3 separate regions of the Homo sapiens genome follow, and regions 1 and 3 are each linked to region 2. The links are contacts of gene promoters, found by promoter capture Hi-C in blood cells and fetal thymus (Javierre and others, 2016). All regions are on one chromosome and are shown on one strand. Each heading gives the region's core, a stretch centred on a gene start or on the middle of the fragment in contact. The rest is flanking DNA. Distances are from core to core; before and after follow the strand shown. Region 1 overlaps TMEM108 (transmembrane protein 108). Region 2 holds the start of TMEM108 (transmembrane protein 108). Region 3 overlaps TMEM108 (transmembrane protein 108).

Region 1 (2,702 bases), core at 45-2,544, 170 kb before region 2:
AAGATGGCATTCATAGAGAAGATAGACTGAGAGAAAACAGTTGATGCTGCAAATTCTGAGTGGGGGCAATGGAGGAGAGACTACACCAAAGGAACCTCCTTCCCCGCTGGGGACCATAGCCAACTGCACAGAGAAGCGGGGCAGGAAGATGCAGTATACACAGCAGTAAGCCAGGAGATCCATTTTGGAAAATACTGAGTGCCACAACTTAACATGCACTGTGCTAATAGGAGGGGCTGGGGCTGAGAATAAAAACAAATGAGACATGCTCCCCATCTTTAAGAGCTTGCAGCATGGCATGGAGAGAGACTATCTTGTCAAAAACCACTCTATAGACAGCTTTGCCTATGTATTTGTCTAATGCACTTGTATTAGACAAGGTATATCATAGCAAATTATATTCTAACAAATTAGAAAATGGGGCAGGCATGGTGGCTCATGCCTATAATCCCAGGTCTTTGGAAGGCCAAGGCAGGAAGGCTGCTTGAGGCCGGAGTTGAGACCAGCTTGGCAAAATAGCAAAACCCCATTCCTTAAAAAAAAAAAAAAAATTAGCCAGGTGTGGTGGCCTGTGTCTATAGTCAGAGCTACTTAGAAGGGGCTGGGGCAGCAGGATCCCTTGAGCTAGTTTGAAGTTTCAGTGAGCTATGATTGTGCCACTGCACTTCAGCCTGGGCAACTGTGAGACCCTGTCTCTTAAAAGCCTTACCCTTCTTGAGTCTCAGCATTACTATCAATAAAATGGGTACAACGTCTATACTGCAAGATAGTTTTGAGAATAAAATGACACGAACATCCACACAAAGTCTGGAACGCAAAAGTACCAGAATCATGCCCTATTTTCTCTTTAAAAGAAAAGTTGTTATCTTCTAGAGTAGGAAGACAAGGTTTCTGAAGGAGGTGGAAATTCAGCTAAACCTTGAAGGTTAAGAGTGATGGAAAATGCAAAGGCACAGAGGTAAGACAGTGAGGCAGGAGTTTGAGAATGAGTACATTAAACAACAGGAGATCTACCACTGGCTGCTGTAAAAGCCTTCCCCAATACAGTTTTGGATGTAATGTGACTGGCTCTCCAGCTTCTGAAAGAGTTGGGCCAATGTTCTTGTCTTCTAGAGGAGGGGAGAATATATTCAGGAGAGGACAAGACTGACAGGGAAGTAGCTGGTGGTAGTTGGAAATCAGCAAGATGGGAGCTGGGTCCCCAAAGCACAATCTTCCCAAATCAATAGAAGAAATAAATGCCTACTAACCATGGGATAGCTGGAAGCCCCAGCCAGCTACAGGATCCAGAATCATCCCCATCAATGTTTACACAGCTTTAGATGACTAACACTAGATGGTGGCAAACCCAAGTTTACACCTGGATAGATCTGGCTCCTGCAGCTAGATCCTCAGAACTCAAGGCTGGCTAACTATGTAGGCTGGCTTTCATCATTCCATTAACTTCACAGTAATGTTACCACGTGGTCTACACAAGTGGTTCTCAAAGTTTGGTCCTCAGACCACAAGCAGCACCCAGGAGCTTGTTAGAAATGAAAATGATCAGGTTCTACCTCAGACCCACTGAATCAGAAACTCTAAGGGTGGGGCCCAGTAATCTGTGCTTCAACAAGCTCTCCAGGATGTATACTAACGTTTGGGAACCCCTGCTTTACACACAGGAATTTCTGGGCCTATTATGCCATGGCAGGGTTTTACTGTACAACTGTGACCTTGGATAAATAATATACCTTTATATAGGACCAACAAAATGAAGAAAGAGGTAGCTGGAACAGAAAGATCTATCTCCAAGGTCCCTTTCAATTGTAACATGCTATAATTTATTAGTTCACCAGTGGGGGAAATGTTTACAGCTCATTAGTTCAAACAGATGGGTAGTGTTGGCATTTGTGGATCTTGTTGCATGCATTGAGTGTGGTATGTTTGAATTCTAATGGCTAATTTTAACATGCTACACATCTTCATTATTAGACTTATTAGGCTATTAATGTTAATGCTATATGATTGACCCCCATATGGAGGGGAGCATTAAAACATGAGCTTTGTGTGAGGAAAACCAACAATTTAATTGCAATGAATTTCTTGTCTCTGTTGTGGTTACATATAACCATTAAGAACTAGACCTTTCACTGAATTAAAATTCTAAACAAAGGCAGTCAGAATTGATTTAAATAATTAAATCCTGGAACAACTACTTTCAAATAAACCTCTCATCCAGAACCTAAAAAACTTTACGATGATAGCCAATACTTACAGGTAAATCAAACATGTAAGCCACTTCGCCTGACAAATCAGCTCAAATCAGAGGTCCAGGGGAGGGCTGGCAAGATGGCCAAACAGGAACAGCTCTGGTCTGCAGCTCCCAGTGAGATCAATGCAGAAGGCGGGTGACTTCTGCATTTCCAACTAAAGTACCTGGCTCCTCACTGGGACTGGTTAGAAAGTGGGTTCAGCCCATGGAAGGCAAGCAGAAGCAGGGTGGGGCGTCACCTCACCTGGGAAGTGCAAGGAGTCAGGGAACTCCCTCCCATAGCTAAGGGAAGCCTTGAGGGACTGTATCCTGAGGAACGGTGCATTCCAATGCAGATACTATGCTTTTCCCATGGTCTTCGCAACACCAGGGCCCTGAGGCTTGAGTAGGCGGGTTTTTCCCCTCACATTGTAAACAAAGCCACTGGGAAGTTCAAACTGGGCAGAGCCCC
Region 2 (2,925 bases), core at 370-2,869:
TGATAAACCTGAATTTGATACCCCTAACAAATTTAGGTGTTCCCTCTTAAAAAAATATATTTATCTTGCCTAGTAAACTGAATTCTTGGCAAGTGTAGGCATTTCACAGGCATGGGGTGTGTTTTAGAGGTTTGAAATCAGGTCATTTCCTAAAGAAACATGTTGTTGTACAGGGAATGTAAGAGCTATAAAGGGCTTTGAAGGTATCAGGATGTCTCCAAGGGACAAGGTAGAGAGACCCTTATCCATCTCATACCAGAAAGAGTTCTGAATAAATTACGTGGAAAGTCCAGAACACAGTAATATCTTCATAATGAGTTAGTTGAACCATTTCTTACAGAGTAGATTACCAGGTGTATCCAACAAATCAAGAAGTTAACCCGTGGAAAATTGAAGGGACTTTTTATGTTTGCCTATGAGCTGTCTGGGGAAATGGAGGAGAGGCAGGGAATACTTTCCATAGCTTGACCTGCTCTTAAGTTCCTGGACATACCTTCCCCTTTTTAAAGTATGATTTAAAGGCAACAATCCATCTCCCCCGGACTCCCATACAAACCTCTTTTGGCAGCCAAATGGTCTTCATCGAGCACACACTTTTCAAAGAATTAAGGACGTGTGAGTAGGTTTAGTTTAGACCCTGCCTTCCCTCTCCCCACAACCCAGTAACATGCTGAAAATAAGTAATAACCTTCCTGGGTACCCCCAGAAAAACCTGTTTGCAGAAACTACAACCTTTCCTCCGAAAAAAACCCCTATCTTCTTAAGGAAGAATCTCAGTGTGGTGGTCTGCAGTTCACTGCAGGCATTTCCCTCCTCACCATTTACCAGTCATCAGTTACGCTGCATCTGAAATTGGTTTTTGTAGACTTTCATTTAGACCGGCTCCACCGGTGCCCAACTGCTTAAAAAAAAAAATAGCCCCTGAACCAATCTCTGGATTCCTCCAGCAGGCTCAAAGCGTTCAATTTCGCTGCAACTCTGGGGTGAAAACCGCCAGGTCCAGCCGGCAGAGCAACCTCCCGGGCAGCACGGAGGCTCCGTCCCCGGCGAGGCCGCCGGCACCTAGGCAGGAGGGCTCTTCGCACAGCTGCGCTAGGAATTCGGCTCCGCTCGCGGCCGCAGGATTAGTTCGAGTCCCTCGGGCTGGCCAAAGTGACACTACATTTCTTCTTCTTCGTTTCCCCATGTGACAGGTCCCCCTGCATTAAAGCCACCTCCTCCTCGGCCCCAGCCCAGGTCCAGCGCTCCTGACGCCCGCGCCCCATCACCCGCACCCTCCACCTGGGGAGGGGGTTCATGCCAGCAACCCTCCAGGCGGGAAACAAAGGCGGAGGCAGGGCTGCCAGGTGGGCAACTCCCCTCGGGCAGACCCGTCACGCAGTGGGGAGGATGGGAAGGTGCCTGAGAGGATAGGAAAAGGGAAACCAAGGCAACCGGGGCTGCATCCTCCCTGAAGCTGGGCTCCCGGGGCAAGCTGACCCCACACCTCCCCGAGCCCCGCCCAGCCCAGCCTAACCCGCTTGCCGGGACCCAGCATGGGAAGGACTGGGGGGACGCCCCGGAGCGCCGCTTACCTCGGGAGAAGCGCTCCGGCTCCCTCCGACGGCTCAGGAGAAAGCCCCACCGCTCGCGCACGCGCTCTCGCGCACTCGCGCCTTCGCCCCTCGGGCCCCCGCGCGCGCCCCTCCGACCAGGCTCTGGCCCGCCCCGGCCTTGTCCGTCAGCGTCCGCGACAGCCAATCCGGTCGCACGGAAGGCTCAGCGCCGGTCACGTGGTGAGACCAGCCAATCACCAAATTGCCCTCGGCAGCGCCCGCTCCGATGTCTCTGGGGGTTCGGTTGCTACCTAGCAGAGCGGGTGCGAGGCGGGCACAAAGGGTCTCTGTTTTCGGGGGCTAAGTGGCACTCAGTTGATCAATTACCAGATCAATTGACTTCTCAAATTCTAATATAAATAAGAATCACTTGACTCTCTTGTTAAAATGCGGATTCTGATCCAGAAGGTCTGGGGTGGAGACCTGAGATCCTGCATTTCTAATAAGCTCCCAGGTGGCGATGACGAAGCTCTTGGTCGGAGGATCACGCTTTGAATTGCACCTGTCCGAAAGTAATGGCTGTAGCCCCAGCTCCACGTAATTTGAAACTTGCACGACCTTTCTTGTCCTTCTTCCACTGATGAGAAGCGTTCCTGTGGCTACATGGGGTGTCCCGGTGATGCTTACAGTTTGGGCACCAGCTGAGGGAAGGTGTGTTTAATCCCCACATTACCCACCCTTGGTCTATGGAGCAGCAATCATGCCAACTTGGTGACTGGAGTGTGGAACCAGAAGTGGAGACGGAATGGCCATGGAAGAGAACACTGTGTCTACGTTAATCCTAAAGGGTTGGGCGTGTGTGTCTGAGTGGCGCGGTGCCAGACACTTGGCCAGAGAAGTGGTATAAGTGGTCCCTGCTTCTCAAAACGTAACAATTTGTTGTAGAACTATACAGGCTAGTTCAGAAAGAAGCATGTGGAGAAAACATCCGGGAAGCTAACAGTCACAGCACAAATTCAGGCATAAGCTAAAGAGGTTGTAAAATAATATGCCTTGAGGGTCTTAAAAACTGTCCAAATATTCTTCTGTCAGTAATTCCAGAGTCTAGAAGTTAGGACTCCCACTGGCCCTGTCATTTCTCAAATTTGACCTAAGGACTCAGTGTTTTCGGACTGGCCAGCTAGAACCTTTGTCGTTCAGCGTAGCCAAGCTCTTATTACCCAGTAGTGTACCGCCGTGGTTCAAGATTCTTAAGTGCTGAATTCTCCAAAACCTTCATCTCTCATCTCTTGAAACCAGGTGGTATAACCCTGCTTCAGCATTTCTCTCTCACTATCAAGGTGATCAAACTGTCGCTTAGAGAAAACTTCACCTTTGTCAGTGTGTCCTG
Region 3 (2,700 bases), core at 149-2,648, 210 kb before region 2:
TGTTTGAAGTTTAAAAAGTACACATAACTACTCTGGAGGCCAAGTTGTGAGGACTGCTTGAGCCTAGAAGTTCTAGGCCAGCCTGGGCAACATAGTGAGACCCTTTCTCTTAAAAAAATTAAAAACATATAATGATTTTCATAAACTGAAATTTCCTTTTCTTATTAAAAATGTTTCTATTATATGCATGATAGTCACTTAAATTACCATATTACTCAAATAATTTAAAAGCTCTTTGTTCCTTAATGTAGTGAAAATTTATTCACCACAGAAGTTAATTTAAAATTATGGTACTTTATATGTTCATCTCAGCACTATTCACCATAACAAAGACGTGGAATCAACTGAGGTACCTATCAACAGTGGACTGGATAAGGAAAACGTGGTACATGTACACCATGGAATACTATACAGCCATAAAAAAGAATAAAACCATGTCCTCTGCAGCAACATGGATGGAGCTACAGGCTATTATACTAAGTGAATTAATGCAGAAACAGAAAACCTAATGGCACATGTTCTCACTTATAAGTGGGAGCTAAGCATTGGGTACTCATGGACATAAAGATGGCAACAATAGACACTGGAGACTACTGGAAGGTGGAGGGAAGGAGGAGCAGTAAAACATCGGTTTACATCTGTCATGCTCAGAGTGTTCCCTACTCTCGTTTTTCCCCTCAACCCCTTCAAAGCTTTTCTATAATTAACCACAGTGTGACAGAAATAGTTTAAGGGCTAACATTCTCTGCCCTTTACTGCACTGATGCAGCCTAATAGTTTTCCGTCTTTATTTATTTCCTCAGTTTCTTTTCACCCTCTGAAACACAGTGGGGCTGTCCCATTACTGTCTCTTCCTCCTATCACATCAGCTTCAATGAAGAGGCTTAAGTTCCACAACTAGAGTATCAGACTTGACGCAAATTGTGAATATTTCTTTTGGCACTGTGAAGGAGATGTCATGATTATACATGCTTCCTTTCTGGCCTTTCCTACCTCTACCCTCCCAGGCCCAGCTGGTACCTGGAATAAACTGGATGAGGAGGAGGCCCACCAGCACCCTGAAATACCTCTTTCATCATCTGATAACCCCCTCAGTGACCACGCAAAGGTAGCAGCTTTTAATCAGCAGCAGGAGTGAGTGCATTCTCTGAGGGCTAGATGAAGGCTAATTTAATTCAAGAAACAATTAAGTGGATGTATATTAGAAGCCAGATTTCTTTCCCCATCCTTTTTCACAGTTGCTATAATAATCCAAGACTTCTAAAAATACAGCCATAAGGATGGCACAACCAGAGCCTGCTAACCAAAAAATAATGAGGCTAAATGAGCTACAGATTCCTCAGCTTATAAAAGGAATAACCCACTGCCATAATGGGTTGCAACATTTCCTTTCCTAAATATTACCCAGCCAATATCTGATTTGAGAGCCAGTACCTCTATCCTGCTACTGTTTGTTTTATTTTTTTAAACAGACCCAGGGGAGAAACAAAAAGACCAACTACTAAAGCTGCTAAAACAAGATAAAGCATACTGCAAGGGAAAGGCTGGAGCAGTTCACTGGCTGAAGTTATAAACTCCATCAAGAGACACACAATCAGATGGCACAACTGTCTTCAGTGGGTCACAGTTTTCCAAATACAAAGGCGGTGCCTACCGAAGCTCTGGGATTCTGGAAAATATACTGGACTTGGAGTAAGACAATCTCAGTCCATGTTCCTAGTTCTAGGATTTTAGGCATAACACTTGGCTTTTAGGGCATTGTATTTTCTTTATAGTAACATGGTATTAAAATGATGCCTATCAACAGGCTTGTCAGGATGAGTCAACAGCATATTAGATGGGAAAACACCATAAAGTACAAAAGGCTTGTTATCGTCAGTCTCCTTTGGTTGTTATATTGGTTAAGAGGACTAATTGTTGCCTCTCTCCAAGTTCAGAACTAATTCAAACATACATAGAGGAGTCAGAGGTGGATCAAACATTATTTTTATTACTAGTTAAGTTGGATTTAAGAACATGGCTTGACTTATAGCTTCCTACTGTATCCTATAACACACTATTTTTTCATATTCTGCCCTTTCTCCTTGATTATACTATAAGCTTTTGGAGAGAAGAAATTATGCTTTATATCTCTCTGCATCCCTAGAGTTTTTCACACAGCCATAACCCCAGCAGGTGTGCTATCTGATAAAGGAGACTGCATTTGTACCACAGTTTTCTATGTGAAGCCTTTTTTCTCCACTGGCCTGGGAACTCTTGGAGGGCAGGGTTCATGTCTTTTCATTCCCAGTGCTTAGCATAATACCTAGCACATAGTAGATTCTTTATAAAAGTGTGTTGAAAGATCATGAAAACAGAAGGGTACCAAATGATCTGGTGCCACCCAGGGGTTGCAGAGAGGGATTTATTTATTTTTTATTTTTTTTTTAGGATTATTATGAATAACAGTGAATATAAATATGGATTGAAAATAGTCCTTTTGGTGATTTCAAAATTTTCTGGTTGGCCTCTGAGACAGGTGGCATCTTAATGAAAGAGGGGAAGCTCCCCATCTGGGAAGGCTCAGAAGTGGGGCCTACCCTATTTCCTTAACACTCAGGACACTAGGAAGCCTTGCAGTTTACTTGTATCCAAGTGAGGGGATTTGCCTATTCTGTTATCTACTTTGAAATGTTAGCTCCTAAAACATGGGCAGGTAGC

The links. The method cuts DNA at HindIII sites, captures the fragments that hold promoters and counts their contacts. A CHiCAGO score of 5 or more calls a contact.
Region 1: a fragment that was not itself captured here is called in contact with the fragment with the promoter of TMEM108 in region 2 in 1 of 17 cell types (megakaryocytes); the score reaches 5.4 in megakaryocytes.
Region 3: a contact is called between a fragment that was not itself captured here and the fragment with the promoter of TMEM108 in region 2, in 1 of 17 cell types (megakaryocytes). The highest score is 6.5, in megakaryocytes.

What each region holds. Positions count from the first base shown.
Region 1 is chr3:133,207,058-133,209,759 of GRCh38, reverse strand. The region is part of intron 2 of TMEM108 (transmembrane protein 108); the gene reads right to left. Among named protein-coding and RNA genes, the nearest start is that of TMEM108-AS1, 49 kb to the left of the region's middle. The HindIII fragment of the contact is 3,586 bases long and covers 1-2,702 here.
Region 2 is chr3:133,037,085-133,040,009 of GRCh38, reverse strand. TMEM108 (transmembrane protein 108) reads right to left here and starts at 1,619. Exons shown (of 6, transcript NM_023943.4): 1 at 1,575-1,619. RefSeq lists an enhancer at 1,631-1,925. The HindIII fragment of the contact is 5,754 bases long and covers 1-2,925 here.
Region 3 is chr3:133,247,370-133,250,069 of GRCh38, reverse strand. The region is part of intron 3 of TMEM108 (transmembrane protein 108); the gene reads right to left. TMEM108-AS1 (TMEM108 antisense RNA 1) reads left to right here. Exons shown (of 3, transcript NR_110812.1): 3 at 1,473-2,700. Among named protein-coding and RNA genes, the nearest start is that of TMEM108-AS1, 8.4 kb to the left of the region's middle. The HindIII fragment of the contact is 1,408 bases long and covers 695-2,102 here.